2 separate regions of the Homo sapiens genome follow, and region 2 is linked to region 1. The links are contacts of gene promoters, found by promoter capture Hi-C in blood cells and fetal thymus (Javierre and others, 2016). All regions are on one chromosome and are shown on one strand. The core of a region is centred on a gene start or on the middle of the fragment in contact, and the rest is flanking DNA. Distances in the headings are between cores, read along the strand shown. Region 1 holds the start of IL20 (interleukin 20). Region 2 overlaps IKBKE (inhibitor of nuclear factor kappa B kinase subunit epsilon).

What was found. Contacts are between HindIII fragments. The CHiCAGO score rates a contact against its expected background, and 5 or more counts as called.
Region 2: a contact is called between a fragment that was not itself captured here and the fragment with the promoter of IL20 in region 1, in 1 of 17 cell types (activated CD4 T cells). The highest score is 6.9, in activated CD4 T cells.

The regions. Positions count from the first base shown.
Region 1 is chr1:206,863,563-206,869,003 of GRCh38, reverse strand. IL20 (interleukin 20) reads right to left here and starts at 3,381. Exons shown (of 6, transcript NM_018724.4): 1 at 3,318-3,381; 2 at 2,993-3,181; 3 at 2,640-2,705; 4 at 2,368-2,520; 5 at 1,546-1,620; 6 at 1-517. The coding sequence starts at 3,151. The coding sequence ends at 440. The HindIII fragment of the contact is 6,531 bases long and covers 1-4,222 here.
Region 2 is chr1:206,488,291-206,493,731 of GRCh38, reverse strand. It overlaps IKBKE (inhibitor of nuclear factor kappa B kinase subunit epsilon), which reads right to left. Exons shown (of 22, transcript NM_014002.4): 17 at 2,874-2,913; 18 at 1,983-2,084; 19 at 613-709; 20 at 354-466. IKBKE-AS1 (IKBKE antisense RNA 1) reads left to right here. Exons shown (of 2, transcript NR_172918.1): 2 at 656-2,616. Among named protein-coding and RNA genes, the nearest start is that of IKBKE-AS1, 6.7 kb to the left of the region's middle. The HindIII fragment of the contact is 1,057 bases long and covers 2,352-3,408 here.

The DNA of each region.
Region 1 (5,441 bases), core at 2,132-4,631:
CCTTAGTTGAATACAAATGAATAACCCCCCTAGCCACTCTTCTAGAATTTACAAGGTTTTTTTTTTTTACTGTATAAAAATACATCACCTGCTCTAGTCAGGTTATAAATATAATCTGTGAATTTTTTTAAAGTTTCATGTCCAAGTAAAAAAATAAATACATTAAATAGCAAAAAATAAATAAATATATTAACTAATAAATATATCCAATAGCAGAAAGATATTACAAAAATCTTATACAAGTATGGTCTCAATTAAGATTGGGGATGCATAAAGACAATCATGCAAGGAAGCAAGTAATGCATAAATAAGATACACTGTGACCAGCACAAGACTAGTACAGTAAAGAGATGGTGGTTTGGGGTCATGCCTCCTCTGCAGGTATTGAAGACTGGAGCTCTTGACCTCGAATATTCTTAGCAGCAGCATCACTTTCCTCCTATTCTGTCTCCTCCATCCATTGCAGAAGAATGTCTAGTTCCCCCAAAGCCTTCACAACTGCTGCCTGAGGTTCCAGCTGAAAGAGACACACACCCATGTGGTTAGCAATTCATGAGACAGCATTTGCTCCAGGACCTATCTCTTTTATGGATAGGTCTGCTGACAATTGTAAGCAGAGCATTCTTTTCAAGATGAAGCACTTAAAGAAGTTATAGAATCTCAAGATATCACACAAGGAAGGGAAATCATTGAGTTCATCACCCTGGTCTTATGTACAGAAACTGAGGTGCAAGGGGGTAGCAGAAGTAAAACTGCTACTTAAGACTCTTGAATCACAGAGATCAAAATAATCAAGCTATTTTCTTTAAGAAACGTGTGTGTGTGTGTGTGTGCACGTGCCTGTGTGTGTGTGTAGGGGTTGCCTACGGTGCACACATCAGTTGAACAGATATTGATTGTGCCAATCACCTAGCTGATGGTTAGGGATGAAAAGGTGAATGGCACAATCCCTATCCACAGTTGAGTGAGGAGACTGGCAAAAACAGGCAACTAAAATGTAGTGTGGTGAATAAAGGGATGAAATTCCTACAAGATGATGTGGGAGGCATCTAACTCTGAGAGAAGGAGCCAGCACCTTCCTGAAAGTGATGCCCAGGCTGAGTCTTTAAAGGATGAGTAGGATTTAGTCAGTGAGGAGTGAAATCCAGGCCTTCCTGGCAGACATGAGAAGGTGTGAAGGTGAGAAATTGAATGGCATGGGTGTGTGTGTGAAATTGTGAGTGTTTTCAAAGGTACATAGAAGTGTGTGAACATTGTAAAACTATTGCCTCTGGTTTGTGCAGCTAAAAGATCCAGATGTCACTGTAGTGACTTGATGGAATCATGGCCATTCCCTTTCCATTTCCAGAGCATCACCCAGAGAGGGTACTCCTCTAGAGCCTGGATGGGTGTCCCCTGGGTTAAAGCAAGGGCTGGTCCTCATGATTTCAGAGGGCTATGAACCTGAAGGCTACAGGATGTCTAACAGTGAATAACCATCCCACCTACCTATGATCTCAGTTCTTAAAACACACCCATCCCAATCAATGCCAAAGTCGCATATACCTTTTCAAAGTGACTCAGAATCTGGCTGTATTTCTTCATTGCTTCCTCCCCACAATGGCATGTCATGTGGGCATGCTGAAAAGGACCCAAAGAATAATAGATTATATTACAGATTCTGATTTTTTGCCATTGACATGAAGCAGGCAGAAACTCTACTCTTTCACCCACAACCCTGAGGATGCTTATTCCTATAGAAAAGCTCTTTCAGACCTCACATTTGGAATCACTAAGTTCATCATCAGCTAGGAGAGGAAGCCACCTTTTAGGCTCAAACATGGAACTCATCACTTCTTTTTTAGAAATAGGCAGGCAGTACTGAAGGCATTTGCCATCCCCGTACCCCATCTGGCCTCCCCACAACCCCCAGCTGTAGTCTAGGAGCTCTATCCCAGAGCTCTTTGAGCCCCCATGAGAAAAAAAAAAAAAAGAATTGAATTCCTAGGTCCTATTCAGACTATATTCTGAGGTCAAGCTCAATGGTCTACTAATTGACTGCCTAGACAGAGGACGCACTAATATACTGTAGGATACCTCACCTACAGAAAAAGTATAATTTCAAAGACAACAGAGTTATCATTAATATCAAATAGTTAGCATCTTATAGTTCTTTAGACTTTGCAAAGTACTTTTTGCCTAGAGCATATACCGAAAAGTCAATAAAACTGAGTTCTTATTACCTAGTCACATGTCTCAACACAGATTATTAGAACTTTTGGACTCAGTTTCTCCATCCATTAAATGGAGGTAGGAAAGAGAGTTTAGTTGCTAAGCCATTGAAGCTGTGTGCTGAGATGCATCCTGTCACCCAAGACCCACACTCACACAGAGCCGGAGGTCCTTCTTGATGGTAAGAAAGGAATTGGCGAGGCTGCTGATCTTCCGGAGAGTATAATGGTCAGGGGTCTGGTAGTTTTTAAATACCCTGTCCAGATAGAGTCTTAGCAAATGGCGCAGGAGGCAGCATCGATTCGCAGGCTGCAAAAAACCACAGGTATATTGGTGAGGGGAAAGGGGAGAGCAGAGACAAGACCAGGGTGATGGAGATGCTCCCACTCCACTCCTCCTCCCAGAGTTTGTCTGGGCCAAGCACATACCTTTGTGTCTTGCAAAGACTCAGTCCTCCTTAAGATTCTGATGTCAATGTTTCCATCTTTGGCTTGCTAAACAGAAGAAGACAAAACAAGCAAGGATGAGTCAGTGCCTGCTGCCAGGGTCTTCAATATCAAGACTTCTCATCCACTCCCTGCCAAGAACTAGTGGGAGGTGTCCTTTCCCAAAACATTTTAAATATTTGAACTACAGTTATTTCTTTGGAATACATCCCCCGGGTAAGGAATCCCCAGCCTGCCTCTTTTTATGATTACACTGCCAGTACTGCCAGGAAAGAGAAACGGACAAGGAAGGAAGAGAAAAGGCTTTCAGGAGAGGTAGATACCCGCTTACGTACCACACTGCCCCGTATCTCAGAAAATCCATTTCGTATTTCCTGAAGGTTTGTGGCGATCACACAGCTTCCCAAATTGAGTGTCTTCAGTCCAGTGGAAGGAGTCCATAGGAGATAAAACGCAGCAGAGAGAAGGCTGAAGGCAAGACTAGAGGCTTTCATCTTAGGCCTGAAATCTGGAGACCACAGGAGCTAGGAATTCAAAGAAGAGAGCATGACTTACTGAGTTTCCCCTCCTCCAAGTGTCCACGGGGTGAGGGGTGGGGGGTCAGGGGAAGAGAACAGCCTTATCTGGCCTCAGACAGTGTGGCCCATCCACGCAACTTACTAAGAAAAACTGCCAAGCCTCCCGTGAAGAGAAGATTTCAGGTCTGAGTTCAGAGTCTGAGTGCGAGTTGGTGGCACAGGTCGTGGCTCCTTTATTCTGTCCCCATCCTGGCTCCGCCGTTAGTGCCCAGCAGGTAAGGCCTGGAACAGCAGGCACTTGCAGTGAATAGATAGAGAATGACATTTCAGGGGAAATGTCAAAACTTGTTTTGGGGAATTGACGCATATAGCCTCCCCTTCCAGAAAGCCAACGTAGCTCACCCTTCTGGTCCCCTCAGACCCACAGGGGAACTGGGGAGAAATCGAATCTCACAGAAGCTGTGGCTGCGCCATCGAAAACACCTAGGGGGAAATTGTCTGGATTTTATGGCCACCCACAGGGCAGAGAAACTGAGCTCTGTTTGGCATTTGTCTGAGATCAGATAGGTTATTTGAGGGTAACAGATTCGCTTAAGCCCCAGAGGCAAATAGAAAGTCAATGATTTCATAACAAGCCTACTGCCAGGGAAAGGCAAGACGTGATGGGCAATCAGCCCGATTCCACCTAACACTCGTGTCTGGGACTCCACAGCGCCCTCTGCAGGAGGACTGTAGTCAGGCACTCCTGGGTGGATTCGAGAGTACACGCTTTCCTGGACCTGCAACTCAGGTCCTAGACCAAGCAAATGGTCCCAAAAGTCAGAGAAGAAAGGCAATGACGGAACTCATTTATTCTTGGGCGAGCCTCCTCAGTAAGAGAGCAGGTTAGGGTGTTTGCTGAGTTTTAAGATAAAATAATAATGGGCTGAGGTTAGGGTAAAACAATTGAGGCACTCATTTTAGGTGCAAAATTTAAGGGAGCACTAAAAAACCTCAGTCATCAAGATAAAAATATTTTAGTGCAATATCAAAATGAATTAAAAAGCTTATGACAAACAAAATATCAAAATTTTATATAAAGACAAAATTCGACAGTGCCATGCTGAGCCATATTGAAGCAAAAGGAAAAATTTGTACCACTATTCACATGTTTTCATGTTTCATTCTTAATGGTTAACTTTGTTTCTCAAAAGCATATGATGAAAATATTATTGATGAGTTTCCTTCCCTTAAAACCAGGACAGTAAAATTATAATAAATTTTGTTTGGGGCAGAAATAAAATATTTAAACTTAAAGTCATGAGTCGTAATAAACCTACTTTTTAATTTTTCAATTTTCTCAAATACTTTAATATTTTTGAAAGAAATAAATACATAAAATTTATAAAGACATATATATATACACACACATCATATATATATATGCACACATCCATATATATATGGCTGGCTCCATAGCTTGGCACAGCACTGATAATCATTATCACTTACTGAATTTTTCCTATATGCCAGGCAATATGCTAGACATTTTTTACATTTGTGACCACTCGAGATACTGTCAAATGTAGGAAAAGGAAAAAAGCAAACCAAACCCAAAAGAATCAAAGAGGACTCTGGGTTTGGAGACAAGAGAACTGGGTCCAAATAAATCCTCGCTTTACTAGTTTCCATTGATGTGGGTCATTCCAGTTTACCCAGCACTGAGGTTGGGGGGCAGGGAATGGTTCCTGAAATACGAAAATTTCAGTTTTAAAACTGGAAAAACCACAGGTAAACTGGAATGAGTTGGCCACCCTACCTCTATGTGACCTTGGACAAGTCAACTCACCTCTGAGTTTAATTTTCTTAACCCCAAAATGGTGATAATTAAACTTAACCCAGAAATTGTTTTGATTTTAAATCGATTATTTAAATACAATAATCTATGATTTATACACTTAGCACAGAGCAAGTGATCAATTCATTTTAAGTAGAGATTGATGTTAGTTGTCCTGAACTAACAATTTGATGAGCATTTAATGAGCACCCGCTGTCTTGAATGTTGTGCTAGGTACTGAAGTACAAAGATAAACATGATGATTATTTGTCCTCAAAGAGATTTTGTCCTCGTGGAAAAGGGTCCTTTAGATGTGACCTTGAACATACCTGGGTAAATGATTAGGAGAAGTAGGTGATCCTCACAACAACGTGAGCAGTGTCAGTAGAGGGTAAGATCTCTTACCTGAGCTCAGGAAAGGCTGCTGCTTCTGGTCTCCTAGGAGCCTGT
Region 2 (5,441 bases), core at 1,631-4,130, 370 kb after region 1:
CTGCAACCTCTGCCTCCTGGATTCAAGCAATTCTTATGCCTCAGCCTCCCAAGTAGCTGAGATTACAGGTGCCTGCCACCACACCCGGCTAAATTTTGTATTTTTACCAGAGATGGGGTTTCACCATGTTTGGCAGGTTGGTCTCCAACTTCTGGCCTCAAGTTGATCCGCTCACCTTGGCCTCTCAAAGTGCTGGGATTACAGGTGTGAGCCACCGCACCCAGCTAGTCTCTTTAATCTTGCCTCCTAGGCCTGGCATGACGCCAAACCCCTCAGGCTCTAACCTCAGCATACTCTGCTCCCTGCAACCCCCTTCCACACAGATACACAACCGCTTTCTCCCCAGCACTTACTGGAGAAGCAGGTCCTTTCGTGTAGGGCTGGGGTAAGGAGCTATGGGAGGCGGCGAGGCCTGAGCCCCCTTTGCTCGGTCCTGAAGGAGCTGGTGAGATAGCTCTTCCAGGAGCTGCAGGGAAGCCATACTTTGGTCAGCAATTAGTAGCCAGCTTATGTGTGGCTGGGTAGGGGGAGTGCTGGAGGAGGGGAAGACATGGGTAACAAGCGCCCCAGCCTGCATCCCCAGAGCACCTAGAATCCTTCTGCCATGCCCACCTTGCTGAGACTCTCCTGGACCCCCTGGGCTTCTGTGTTACAGGCAGCCACAGAACAGCCAACCAGGCGCAGGTGGTTCCTGGTCTCGTGCACCACCCTCAAGAGAACACACAGAGACTTAGAATTAGAGCAGGACTCAGCCCATTCCCCAGGGCTCGCCTAGCTGCCATCGGATCCACACATGGACACAGGTGGGTCCCGGGTATTTGCCTCCCTCGCTGCCTCTGCCCTGCCAGCTGTGCCCTCCACGCTTGCCCGCCCCACTGCAATAATGCAGAAGCACACAGCTGGCTGAGGCTGGGAGGCCCCCTTCAGAGCCGTAGTGTGGAGCACCAACAACATGCATGTGGCTGGGGCTGGGTGACGCATGCCACCTATGGTGAGCGTGGCACCAGTCAGGCTGCAGAGAGGCAGAGGATAGCCCACACCAGGGCTCTCAGTGTGGGGAACTGCCCACGCTCTCATTTCCAGTGTGAATTCTCTTCTATCTCTAAGTGGAGTGAAGGAACAGGAACATTTTCCCCAAGGCCCAGAGCTGTTAAATCAGGGGTTGGAGGTCAGCCCTCGCCACACATTAGAATCACCTGGAGAAGCTGTACTACACTGACATCCAAGCCCTGCTCCAGAGCAATTACACCAGAATGTGTGGTGGGTTGGAGTAGAAGAAGCAGGCATTGGTATTCTGATATGAGGACGGGTGAGTGCCAAGGTCTCAGCCCCATAACAAGGTGAGGTCCTACAGGCCTCAGAATGTGGTAGCACGTGGGAAATTGTCCTCTCTTCTCAGGAGGGGCCAGTGTTCACACAGGCAGGGGATGGAGAGTGGGCCTGATCTGAGAAGGCGGAACCCAAAACTCCTGAAGGGGACAGTGTGACAGAAGGTTCTACTTAAGGGCCACTGCCACTGTCCTTATCCCAGGGGCACCTAGTGTTCTCCTAAAGGAGACTTCTCAATATAACCAGGTGGAACGGTAGAAAGAATCCAGATTTGATTTGATTTTACCCCTCAAAAGCCCTGAAGAATCTAGATTGTAGAGGCAGGCAGAGCCACATACGAGTCTTGGGTCTGCCACTTACTAGCCATGTGATGTGCAGAGGAGACCTGTTCTCAGAGCCTCAGTTTCCTCACCTAGGAAATAGGGTGATGATATCTACTGTATAGGGCAGGTGTTGTAGGAGTAAATAAGCTGAGCTACAGAAATCTCCCAGCCAACTGCCTGGTCCACCCAGGGACAGAAAACCACTCCTCTGCTCACACCCCTTCACTCACTCCTCCCTCTGCCTCAGGGCTCCACAAAGCCCTGGGTCCTCTGAAGCCTAGAAGGGCCAGGCCAGGCCCTGGGCTCCAGGAGCTCAGGAGGGGCTGTTACCTCATCCTCTTGCCGTGTGTGACTAAGGACGCTTGATACTTCTGCACGCACTCCTCCTGGAACACCTGCAGGAGTCTTTTGGCTAAATGACTGAAATTCACCCTAGAACGACAGAGAACCAAGGTGCAGATGAGCTGCCAGAACCACTATGCACAAGCCCACCATCCCTCAGTCTCCGTCAGTCTCCGTCACCACCTTGTCGTAAGTGCCCAAGCCCTGCGTCCACAGCAGGGCTATGTCTCTGGGAAAGGAGGAAGGACGGTCACACACTTGGATTGTGAAGGTTGCAGTGGCCAGCAAAGCCCACATCAACAGGGAGACGTGGGAGACACACAGGGGGTCCTCAGGGAACACACATGTGCTCAAGCTTAGTCCTCAGGAAAGGGAAGGGAAAGTGAGGCAGCCGTGGAAAGAAGGTGTGTGAGTGCGTGTGTGTGTGAGACAAAAAGGGGTCGGGGTGCTTGTAGAACTGGGGGAGTGAGTTCCCAGATAACCATTAAATCAGGGAGGGCCTCCTGGACGTGAGTGTGTCCGGGAAACATGGGAGACAGAGGAGCGGGGGGAGGCAGGGAAGGTTCAGGCAGAGGGCAGAAGCAGGAAGTGGTAAGTGGTGCATCAGTGAGGACAACTAGAGAAAAAAAAAGCCTGCAAACAGTCTTGTCCATACCAGAAGTAAATCCAGTTACTTCAAGATTGCATCTGAGAAGTCTCCCTCCAACTAAGCTATGCATACTCCCTCCCCTGGCCCCAGATAACCTGTTATCCCCAACTCTGCTCAGCTGCAGTCCGGGACAGGGCCCTTCACTGCCTCTCCTCTGGCGTTGAGAATCGCTCTGCCCTGAGGACACCCACCCTCCTGCCCACCCACCTGCCGGAGGACAGGCCACTCACTTATCCAGCTTGTGAATCTGCTCCTCGTTGTAGCCAAGCCCTGGAGGAAACAGACAGAACAGATGTCACCTATTCAATCAGTCAACGAAACAGTGTGCAGCAAAGGTCGAGAGACAGTTAAAAGATGAAGACGGCCCAGCCTGTGCTGCTTCACGGGAACTCACCGCCCAGCGGAGCAGGAGGGGCAGAGGAGTGAAGCTAGCACCGGAATAGCTGATTAGGACAAAGCCAGGGCCTCAAGAAGCCATGGGGAAATTGTGTGAGGGCCCCAGGGGAAGGCAGCCTGCAGTGCAGGGCCGGGGTGGGGACGTGGGGGATGCTTCAGGTGGGAGTTGGTGGATGAAGTGGGCTTAGAAGGAGGCTCGGTCAACCATAGCCCCTTATCCAGCACCCTCCCAGAGTGACTGATGCCTGCAGCTGGGTGGTCCCATCCCTGAATGTTCATGGGCGCTACCTGCAACGAGCTGGAGAAATCAGGCCACCACCTTCTACCTCCCCGCTCTGCCCAGCCACTTTTGCCAGAAAGGCTGAAGCTTTCATGGCCTTGGCTGCCTCCTGAAGGGCCCTAAGGCTCATGCACTAGGGAGATGCTGCCCCCTCCTGGTCTTCGCAGGAATGGGCCTCCAGGGTGGCGGCAGCCCCAAGATGAAATGATGATGGCGGTTCACTTCGAGGGCCTCCCCATCCCACTCCTCTCATAGCAGAGTCCCCCTCCTGGGCCCTGCACTCGGCCAGCTAAGAGCATGTGTGCAGTCCGAGAGACCTGGGACAAACCTCAGCCCTTCCTCCTGTTGGCAGGCGGCACTAGGCGAGTGATTTCACTTCGCTGAGCCTGTCTCCTTATCCATCACAGGTGCCACTTGGGAGTCCCGTGAGGCTCATGCGAGAGAGCCTGAAGACCACCGGGCATTTTAAAAAATGGTATCTTTCAACACGCTGGGTTTTAACAGTTAGGGGTTCATTTTTAATTTTATTAAAGGACTCTTAAAGACCAATAGAAGTAAAACTCCTTTGAGGCTGTAAAATGGGATAGTTAAAAGCAGCTGGACCTAGATTACTTGGGCTACTTAACCTTTCTGTGTCTTGGTTTTCTCATCTATAAAATGGGGAGGGTAATGATGCCTAGAGGTTTTGTTATTGTTGTTGTTTGAGACAGGGTCTCGCTCTTGCCCTGGCTGGAGTGCTGCAGTGGTGTGATCTTAGCTCACTGCAGTCTCGAACTCCCAGCTCCCAGGCTCAGGTGATCCTCCCACCTCAGCCTCCCAAGTAGTTAGGACTACAGGCGCATGCCCACGTCCAGCTAGTTTTGTTTATTTTTTGTAGAGACGGGGTCTTGCTATGTTGCCCAGGCTGGTCTTGAACTCCTGGGCCCAAGTGATCCTCCCGCTTCAGTTTTCCAAAGTGCTGAGATTACAGACATGAGCCACTGCACACAGCTCCATGTATGTGTGTGTGTGTATATATATATATATATATATATATATATATACACACACACACACACACACACACATATACACACATATATAAAATTTAGTTTCCCAATAGAGATGTGTTATAAATGTTATATATATGTGAATAATATATATATGAATAATATATATATGTGAATAATATATATATGAATTATATATATATATGTGAAATATAAAACAATGAAGTGATGGGAAAGCATCCTGTAGTCCCAGCTAGTCAGGAGCCTGAGATGGGAGGATGGCTTGAGCCCAGGAGGTTGAGGCGACAGTGAGCAGTGATCATGCCATTGTACTCCTGCCTGGGTGACAAAGGCCCTGTCTCAAATATATATATTAGCATGTAATCAATATAAACAGAATTGCTAAGGAAATAAGTTATATATTTATGTGTATATATACACGTGGGATTTTGAAGATAACACAAAAAGAATATAAGGTATTTCCTTAGTGATTTTGTTTATATTGATTACACGCTAAAATGACACTGGATATATTGGGTTGAATAACACATTAAAATTAATTTCACTTGTTTCTTTCTACTTTTTAAAAATTGGCTACTAGAAGACTTAGAATTACATACGTGTCTGGCATTATATTTCTATTGGACAGTGGTTTTTAGATAATCCCAAGGAGAGAAGAGAATTTGGCAATAAAGCCCAAGACCTTCAGCCTACAGATTAGGAAATGCTTGGGGCCTGGGAGAGGAGGGGGAGGTTTGGTTCCTGGTGTGTTAGTTCCCCAACCTGAGGAGTCAACTGGAGCCTCCGCAGGCTCCCTCCAACCCCCTCACCAGCCCTCCCTGGGTCCCACCCTTGCACTACCCCACAATGGCAGTCACTTTGGACAAGCAGCTTCCCACCCCCGAGCCTGTAAATGGGCTGCCCCTGCCACAGCATCCTTGTGAGGATTAATGGATCAAGCAGCCAAAATGCCTGACCCAGTGACTCAAAATGGGACTTCTCCTGACCCCCCCTTTTCTGGAAAACCTGACTGTCTCAGTGTCCCAAGGACACAACGGATAGTGACATTCTATACTTTAAAGTGCCCTGCCAAGGTGCGAGATCTCTTTCCAGGACCACCTCTCCTACAGCAC